Linked DNA regions of Homo sapiens: regions 1 and 2 are each linked to region 3. Evidence: promoter capture Hi-C in human tissues and cell types (Jung and others, 2019). All regions are on one chromosome and are shown on one strand. Each heading gives the region's core, a stretch centred on a gene start or on the middle of the fragment in contact. The rest is flanking DNA. Distances are from core to core; before and after follow the strand shown.

The links. Contacts are between HindIII fragments. The study calls those that stand out against the background at their distance.
Region 1: a contact is called between a fragment that was not itself captured here and the fragment with the promoter of ADAMTS2 in region 3, in 3 of the 25 tissues and cell types used here (H1 embryonic stem cells, IMR-90 fibroblasts and mesenchymal stem cells).
Region 2: a contact is called between a fragment that was not itself captured here and the fragment with the promoter of ADAMTS2 in region 3, in 1 of the 25 tissues and cell types used here (dorsolateral prefrontal cortex).

The regions. Positions count from the first base shown.
Region 1 is chr5:179,144,156-179,146,855 of GRCh38, reverse strand. All of the region lies in intron 10 of ADAMTS2 (ADAM metallopeptidase with thrombospondin type 1 motif 2), which reads left to right. Among named protein-coding and RNA genes, the nearest start is that of ZNF354C, 85 kb to the right of the region's middle. The HindIII fragment of the contact is 7,607 bases long and covers 1-2,700 here.
Region 2 is chr5:179,475,930-179,478,629 of GRCh38, reverse strand. No RefSeq gene overlaps it. Among named protein-coding and RNA genes, the nearest start is that of RUFY1, 73 kb to the left of the region's middle. The HindIII fragment of the contact is 4,382 bases long and covers 1-2,700 here.
Region 3 is chr5:179,344,032-179,346,731 of GRCh38, reverse strand. It overlaps ADAMTS2 (ADAM metallopeptidase with thrombospondin type 1 motif 2), which reads left to right and starts at 1,271. Exons shown (of 22, transcript NM_014244.5): 1 at 1,271-1,542; 2 at 2,571-2,700. The coding sequence starts at 1,404. It overlaps LOC105377759 (a long non-coding RNA gene), which reads left to right. Exons shown (of 3, transcript XR_941311.3): 3 at 1-371. The HindIII fragment of the contact is 12,907 bases long and covers 1-2,700 here.

The sequences.
Region 1 (2,700 bases), core at 188-2,687, 200 kb after region 3:
TTTTATCATTTTCTAATTTATTTATTAGAAAGGAAAGAAAATTCAGATAAAAATTAATGGGATATGAAACTAAAGTAGTAGAAAATGAGCAAGGAAATAAAAAAAATAATAACTCTGACTTCAAAAAGCTCATTGTCACCAAAAAAGAAAGGTTTTATATCAAACCAAAAGCAGTTGCTCATTAGGAGGAAGAGACACATATCAAAGAAGTTAACAGGCCTTGGAGCGTTTGACAGTCTCATTAACGAAGAGGAGTGAATCTGATGAACACATAGGAAAATGGTTCAGACATCTTTCTGATTTGCCATGAAATGTTGACAACATCAAAGACGCCAGGGAGCTGCGAACGCTGCCACTGCAGTCAGGGCGTCCACGGCAACTGCTACTGAGCGTTGCTCATCCAAAGAGTGTCTTAAAGTCAAGCTCCCACAGAGAAAACTTGAAATGCCCTGAAAACCACATCAAGGACGGAAACCAGAGAGCACCTCCTCCAAATGTCATCATCCTAAATGTTCAGATGGCGTCACCCATAACTTCTTTAAAGTACTGATCATTTTTTAAAAAGAAAGAATTTCCCTCAATATGCCAGGGCCAAGTGCTGGCCAACTCCATCTGCTGCCTGTTTGGTTGGTATTGGTTTTTTTCCCTAACAGCTTTAATAAGGTGAGATCTATATTTAAATTCACTTTTTAAAGTGTACAGGCCGGGTGCAGTGGCTCATGCCTGTAATCCCAGCAGTTTGGGAGGCTGAGGCAGGAGGATCACCTGAGGTCAGGAGTTTGAGACCAGCCTGGCCAACATGGTGAAACCCTGTCTCTGCTAAAAATACAAAAAAATTAGCTGGGCCTTGTGGTGGGCACCTATAATCCCAACTACTCAGGAGGCTGAAGCAGGAGAATCACTTGAACCCGGGAAGCAGAGGTTGCGGTGAGCCGAGATCTCGCCACTTCGCTCCAGCCGGGACAACAAGAGCGAAACTTCGTCTCAAAAATAAATAAATAAGTAAAAGAGAGTGTACAATTCAGTGATTTTCAGTGTATTCATAGAGTTTTACAGCCATCACAACAAACAAGCGCTGGAACATTTTTGTCACTCTGAAAAGTTCCAAACCCTTTAGTAGTCACCTCAATCCATCCTACTCTCGCCCAACTCCAGATAGCCACTCGTAGCCACTCATCCTCTTGCTGTCTTTATCGATTTTCCAATTCTGGACATTTCATATCAATGGAATCATACAACATGGGACATTTTGCGCCTGGCGTCTTTCACTTGGCATAATGTTCACAGGGCTCATCCCTGTTGTAGTGTGCAGCAGCCCTGCATTCCTTCCTGTTGCTGAATACTAATCCACTGTGTGGGTATTCATCATTTATTAGTTGATGGACATTTGGGTTGTTTCCACCTTTCGGTAATGATGGGAAATACCGCACAAACATTCGTGTACAAAGTATTGCGTGCATGGGTCGTTTTTCTTGGATGTACACCTAGAAATGGAATCATTGGATTTTATGGTAACTCCATGTTTGACATTTTGAGGAACTGCCAGTTTCCCAAAGCAGCCTGTTTTACATTCCAACTGGCAATGATGCTTCAGATTTCTCCATATCCTCCCCAAAACTTGTTATTTTATTTGTTATACCAATCCTAGTGCATGTGAAGTGATATATCTCATTGGGGTTTTGATTTGTATTTCCCTAGTGACCTATGATGACCGTCTTTTCATGTGCTTAATGGCAATTTGTATATATTTTTTGTATAAATGTCTATTTAGATCCTTTGCTTATTTTTTCATGGAGTTATTTATATTTTTATTATTGAATCCTAAGAGTTTTTTATTTATTCTGGATACAAGTCTGTTATCACACTCACCAGTGTAAGTGGTCTGCAAATATTTCCTCCCATTCTGTGGGTTGTCTTTTCACTTTCGTGATGGCATCATTGAGGTGCAAAAGTGTTTAATTTTGATGAAGTCTAATTTATCTATTTTTACTTTTATCACCTGTGCTTTTGGTGTTGTATTTGAGAAACCATTACTTAGGTCAAGAAGATTTACTCCTATGTTTTATTCTCAGAGTTTCAGCTCTTACATTGACATCTGTGATCCATTTTTGAGTTAATTTTTGTGTAAGTGTGAGGAAGATGTCCAACGTCATTCTTTTGCATGTGAATATCCAGTTGTCTCAGAACCATTCGTTGAAGAGACTATTCCTTTTCCATTGAATTGTCAAAGTTTAACTTATCAAATGTAAAGGTTTAGTTCTAGGCTTTTGTTCTATTCCGTCGGTATATTTGTCTGTCCTTATGCCAGGGATACACTGTCTTGATTACTGTAGTTTAATAGTAAGCTTCGAAATGGTGAAGTGTCTTCCCACTTTGCTCTTTTTTCAATATTATTTTGGCTATTCTACATCCTGTGACTTTCCATATGAATTTTAGGAGCAGCTTCTCAACTTTGCAAAATTCTAGTCTGCATTTTGATAGGAATTATGTTGAACCTGTAGATCAGTGTGAAAGTATTTCCATTTTAACACTGATCAATGAACATTGAGATGTCTTTCCATTTACTTAGAACTTGAACTTCTTTCAATGATGTATTGTAATTTTTAGTGGACACGTTTTGCATTCCTTTTGTTCAATTTATTACTAAGGTTCTTTTTTTCTTTTTGGTGCTATTGTAAATGGAGTTATTTTCTTAATTTC
Region 2 (2,700 bases), core at 23-2,522, 130 kb before region 3:
CTGCCGCAATCCTTGACCTTCTTTGGCTTTTGGACGCATCACTGCCACCTGTGTCTCCGTCTCCACATCGCCTTCTCCTCTTTGCCTTTTGTCTCCAATGTCCTTCTTCCTTTTCTTACAGCTGTCATTGGATTCAGGGCCCACTTTGACTCCAGGATGATCTCAACTCGAGACTCTTCATTACAGTTGTAAGGACCCCTTTCCAAATAAGGTCACACTCACAGTTCCAGGGGTTAGGAGCTGGACATACATTTTTGGAGGCCTATTCACCCCCTACAGAGATGGAAAACAGACGAGTGGCTGTCAGAGGTTAGGGATGGTGGGGACATGGCTGTGTAGGTGACTATCATGGGGTGGCTCCCAAGGGTGATTTTTGTGGCAATGGGACAGTTTTGTATTTTGATTGTAATAGTTACATGAAACTACACATATGATAAGATGACACACATTGGGTCGGGCTTGGTGGCTCACGCCTGTAATCCCAGCATTATGGGAGGCTGAGATGGGCAGATCACCTGAGGTCAGGAGTTAGAGATCAGCCTGGCCAACAAGGTGAAACCCTTTCTCTACTAAAAATACAAAAACTAGCCAGGTGTGGTGGCGGGCTACGTATAGTCCCAGCTACTCGGGAGGCTGAGGCATGAGAATGGGTTGAACCTGGGAGGCAGAGGTTGCAGTGAGCTGAGATCGCGCCACTGCACTCCAGCCTGGGCGAGAGAGTGAGACTCTGTCTCAAAAAAGAAAAAAAAAAAAGATGACGCACATTGCACCAATGTCAATTTTCCCGGTTTTGATGTTGTACCATAGTTATGTAAGATATTGTCACTGGGAGAAACTGTGTGAAGTGTAAATGGGGACATCTCGATACTATCCTTGCAACTTCTGTGAATCTATAATTGTTTCCAAATAAAATGTTCAACAAAACCCTACGTGCACATGCACACACAGACACAAACATAAGCAAAGTCAAAAGACAAATGACAAACAGGCAAAAAAATTCTTTTCTTTCCCAGAACAAGACCCAAATTGATTCAGCAGACATTTTAATTAGGAAATCCTATAAATCAGGACCACTTTTAATTTCAGACACTCCGTTATGAAGCGTACATCTACATCTGGAGGATGAACAGGCCATTGAATCTCTTAAAAACTGGCTTTGCTACCTTCGCATTTGGGGGTAGGACCTTCGTAAGACACCATTAAGCTTCAAAGGGCAAAGCCTGTGATTTCTCCTCGGGGAAAGCCACATTTTAAAACCAGCTTCGGTCACAAAGAACAGCTGCATGGGAGAAGGAGACAAACCGCACGGGGAGGATGTGCAGAGCCTGAGGCCCACAGCTTCACAGAGGCCAGCACAGAGCAGAAAAACATCCAGGGTCTCTTGTCCATTCCTACAGACACCAGCAAGGATGGAATAAGAAAGTTGGGCTGGGAGGATGGGAGAGAGGCTCAAGAGATTGTTTAGGTGGGCCCAGTGGCTCACGTCTATAATCCCAGCATTTTGAGAGGCCAAGGCAGGAAGATTGCTTGAGGGCGGGAGTTTGAGATCAGCCTGAGCAACATAATGAGATCCCATCTCTACACAAAAATACAAAAATTAGGCGGGGCGCGGTGGCTCATGCCTGTAATCCTGGCACTTTGGGTAGCCGAGCAGGGGGTGGATCACGAGGTCAGAAGTTCAAGACCAGCCTCGCCAAGATGGTGAAACCCCGTCTCTACTAAAAATACAAAAATTAGCCAGGCGCTGTGGCAGGTGCCTGTAATCCCAGCTACTTGGGAGGCTGAGGAAGGAGAATCGCTTGAACCTGGGTGGCAGAGGTTACAGTGAGCCGAGACCATGCCACTGCACTCCAGCCTGGGCAACAGAGCGAGACTCCGTCTCAAAAAAAAAAAAAAATTAGCCAGCATGGTGGTGGCATGCACCTGTGCTCCCAGCTACTAGGGAGACTAAATCAGGAGGATCACTTGAGCCCAGGAATTTAAGGCTGCAGTGAGCCAAGATTGTGCCACTGCACTCCAGCCTCGGCAACAGTTTTTAAAAAGCCAGTTTTTAAAAGATTCAATGGCTTATTCATCCCCTAGAGGTAGATGTACACTTCATAACGGAGTGTCTGAAATTAAGAGTGGTCCTGATTTATAGGATTTCCTAATCAAAATGTCTGCTGAATCAATTTGGGTTTTATCTTGGAAGAAAAAAGATTTTTTTTTTTTGCCTGTTTGTCATTTGTCTTGTTGTTTGTCATTTGTGAGACCTTGTCTGAAAACAAAAAAAGGAAAAAGATTGTGACTGCTTCTGAGAAAGCTCCTGGTGTGGCTAGAGTGGCCTTGTGGGAAAAGAACAAATTCTGTAAAGAAGAAAGCAAGAAAAAGCAAGTACTTCTCCCCACACATCCCCTCGCCCGTTTGCGTCCTCTGGAGACTCCAGGCAGTAGCGGAGCACAAACAGGGCTCTTCTCGGCGTGAGACAGAAAAGACACCGCGGTGAGTTAGCTTTCCCAGGAACTGCACGGCCTCCCACCTACAGCCAACCCTGATCTTGAACCGCGACTGGCAGGGTTGAGTCCTTTACAAGCGCACACTCAAATTCAACTCTCAAATTCCCCTTCAAAACTGTCCAGGTCCCTCCAGTCCCCTAAATGGAGTTGACATCTCCCACCTTCTCCAGCCATAAACCGGTGGGAGAAAGGGTCGGCCCCAACC
Region 3 (2,700 bases), core at 22-2,521:
CCCACAATCGAAAGAACCAAGGACGTGAGATCACAGTTAGAGCCTGCTGTGTAAGTCGTGTTTCCCCCAACGACTGGGACCTCCTGGCCAGCAGGGAGAGGCCTGAGTCATCTCCGGGTCCTCTGCCCCTGGCCAAAGCAAAGACCAAAGCCCTGGCCACACAGACCTGGGGCAGGGCAAATGAGAAAATCAAAGGGGTGGGTGTTCACCCTCTGGGGAAGTGAGGCAGAAATTGGGGGTCCCAGGGCAGAGATGATCAACAGCCTGAGAGGGGGCTCTCAGGCAGGCCCTGGAGAGAGGCCGCTGAGCTCAGACAGCATGGGAGGATCAGGGCCTTGCTGGAGAGGAGGGACTGGGGAGGGGTTCCGGTTGGCAACGGGCTCTAACAGCAAACTGGCCCCAGAATGGGCCCAGGTGTCCTTGGATGCTTGGGTGGAAAAGGTAGGCAGAGCTTGGAGAGGCCATTTCAGGTTGGGGGCCGGGAGTGCAATGGCGGGAGGACAGAATGCATACGTGGGGTTGAGGACAGGTGAGGGCAGGAGCCTGACTGTGCTCATGGGCAGAGAGCCCAGGTCTGGCAGGAAGAGGCTGTGCTGAGGCTGCAGCGGAGGGATGGGAAGGCAGATGGGGGACAGGGGACAGGGACTTCAGAGGAAGAGGAACTGGGGACTGAAGGAGCCTTGCCTCTCTCAGTAAGGGCAAAAGTTGATCTTTGGGGTCGCGCCCTGGGTGTACCCTCCTAACAGCATCTTCTGGCCTTTGCGGCCTCTATTTGGGCATTCGGCCTGGCTCAGACCTTGGACCCAGTAGTCAGTCCCCCCTCCCCTTTCATTCCCTCACCCTGTCCTGCCCCAGAGCACAGAGACAGGGGGATGCACCCCTTGAATTCCAGGGCTGATGGGTGGGACCCGGCACCCCAAGGGCTCTCTAGGTGGGGACGTTCGGCCGGCGCCGCTCCTCGGAGGTTGTGCCCCTGGGGTGGCTGGCGGCGGGGCTCCCCCGGCCCGGCCCGCGGCGCTTCTCTGCCGCCGCCTCGGGGTGTCTCTGCTTCGCTGCGAGCCCGGCACCGCGGCGACGGCGGCGCGAAGAGGGAAGCGGGCGGCGGCGGCGGCCGCGCCAAGATGCGCCGGGTCACCGCAGGCTGAGGCGCCCGCCGTCCCCGCCCTCCCCCTCGCTCGCCTCCCTCCCTCCCGCCTGCCTCCCTCGCTCGCTCGCTCCTTCCCTCTCCCCGCCTTCCCTCCGCGCTCCCCCGCCCGCCCCTCCGCGCCTCGCCTCCTCCGCCCCGCGCCCTGCGGTGCTGCAGCTGCGGGCGGCTCCAGCTGCCCCCAGATGTGGGCTGGGCGGCTCGCGGGGAACTTTCGCGCCGGCTGCGAGTGCGGGGCCCCGGCTGCAGTCCGGCTGCCATGGATCCGCCGGCGGGAGCCGCTCGCCGCCTGCTCTGCCCCGCGCTGCTGCTGCTGCTGCTGCTGCTGCCGCCGCCGCTCCTGCCGCCGCCGCCGCCGCCCGCGAACGCCAGGCTCGCCGCCGCCGCCGACCCCCCAGGTAGGTGCGGCCCGGCCCCTACTCCCCGGGACCCCCGCCGGCCTGGCCCTGTCCCGCGTGCCCCGCCGCCCCCTCCCCAGGCGTCGTCCAGCCTGACTTGGGCAAACTCCGCGCGCCCCGCCCGGGGCCAAGTTGGCCAACTTCGGGGCCGGGTTGGTCGCGCAGGGGGCGCCCCGCACCGCCCCCGAGCGCCTTGGGCCGGGGGAGCCTCGGAGCACTGGCGGCTCCTGAGTCGCGGAGGGTGGGGACGGAGGGCCGGGAAAAGCCCCGCGGCCAAGAGCGCAGAGTCAGCCCCAGCGGGTCCGAGGGGGGAGCCAGGGCGAGGCGGCGCCGGGGCTCGCGTCCGGGGACGCTCCGGAGGAGCCGGCTGCCGAGCGCGTAGCCTTGGGCCCTAAGGATTGGTTGGGGCGCCCCGCAGGGAATCCCCGGAGATCGGAGGGACCCTGTTCCACCCCTCCCAGTCCTCGGGCGCTCGGGGAGACGGGGCCGGCAGCGGGCTGAGCGGGAGCTGGACAGGCAGGACAGGCCGCTCGTGCTCGGGGAAGCCGAGACTCCGCCGCTCCGGAGGCTGGCGGTGAGGGCACTCGGGCGGCAGGGGCCCGCCGAGGGGTCGTGGCACACGGGTAAGGGGGCCAACCCGGAATGGCTTCCGAGCAGCTCCACGTCCTGCCAAGGACGGTAGGTGCAAGGGTCGGGGGACTCTCTGACGGGGTCGTCCCTTCGGGCACGGGGAGGTTCCCACCGAGCCCCAACCCTGAACGGGGCAGGGGGCAGAGCTCTTGGCAGGCAAGGTCTCCGGAGGAGGGAACGGCTGGGGAGTGGCGGAGCCCCGGAGTGGTGGCCCTGTTAACGCCCCTTCCCGGTTGCAGGAAAGCCGGGGAGGTGCAGGCTGGCTTCTGGGGTCGCCTGGCGGAATGCCCCTTCCCTTCGCAGTGGGGCGGGGTCTGGGGGGGCGTGGCTTGCCGGCGGGTCTCTGAGGCACTGGGGCTCCGTGGTCTCCGCCGATCTAACGCCCCTTCCCGTTGCAGGCGGGCCCCTGGGGCACGGAGCGGAGCGCATCCTGGCGGTGCCCGTGCGCACTGACGCCCAGGGCCGCTTGGTGTCCCACGTGGTGTCGGCAGCTACGTCCAGAGCAGGGGTACGAGCCCGCAGGGCCGC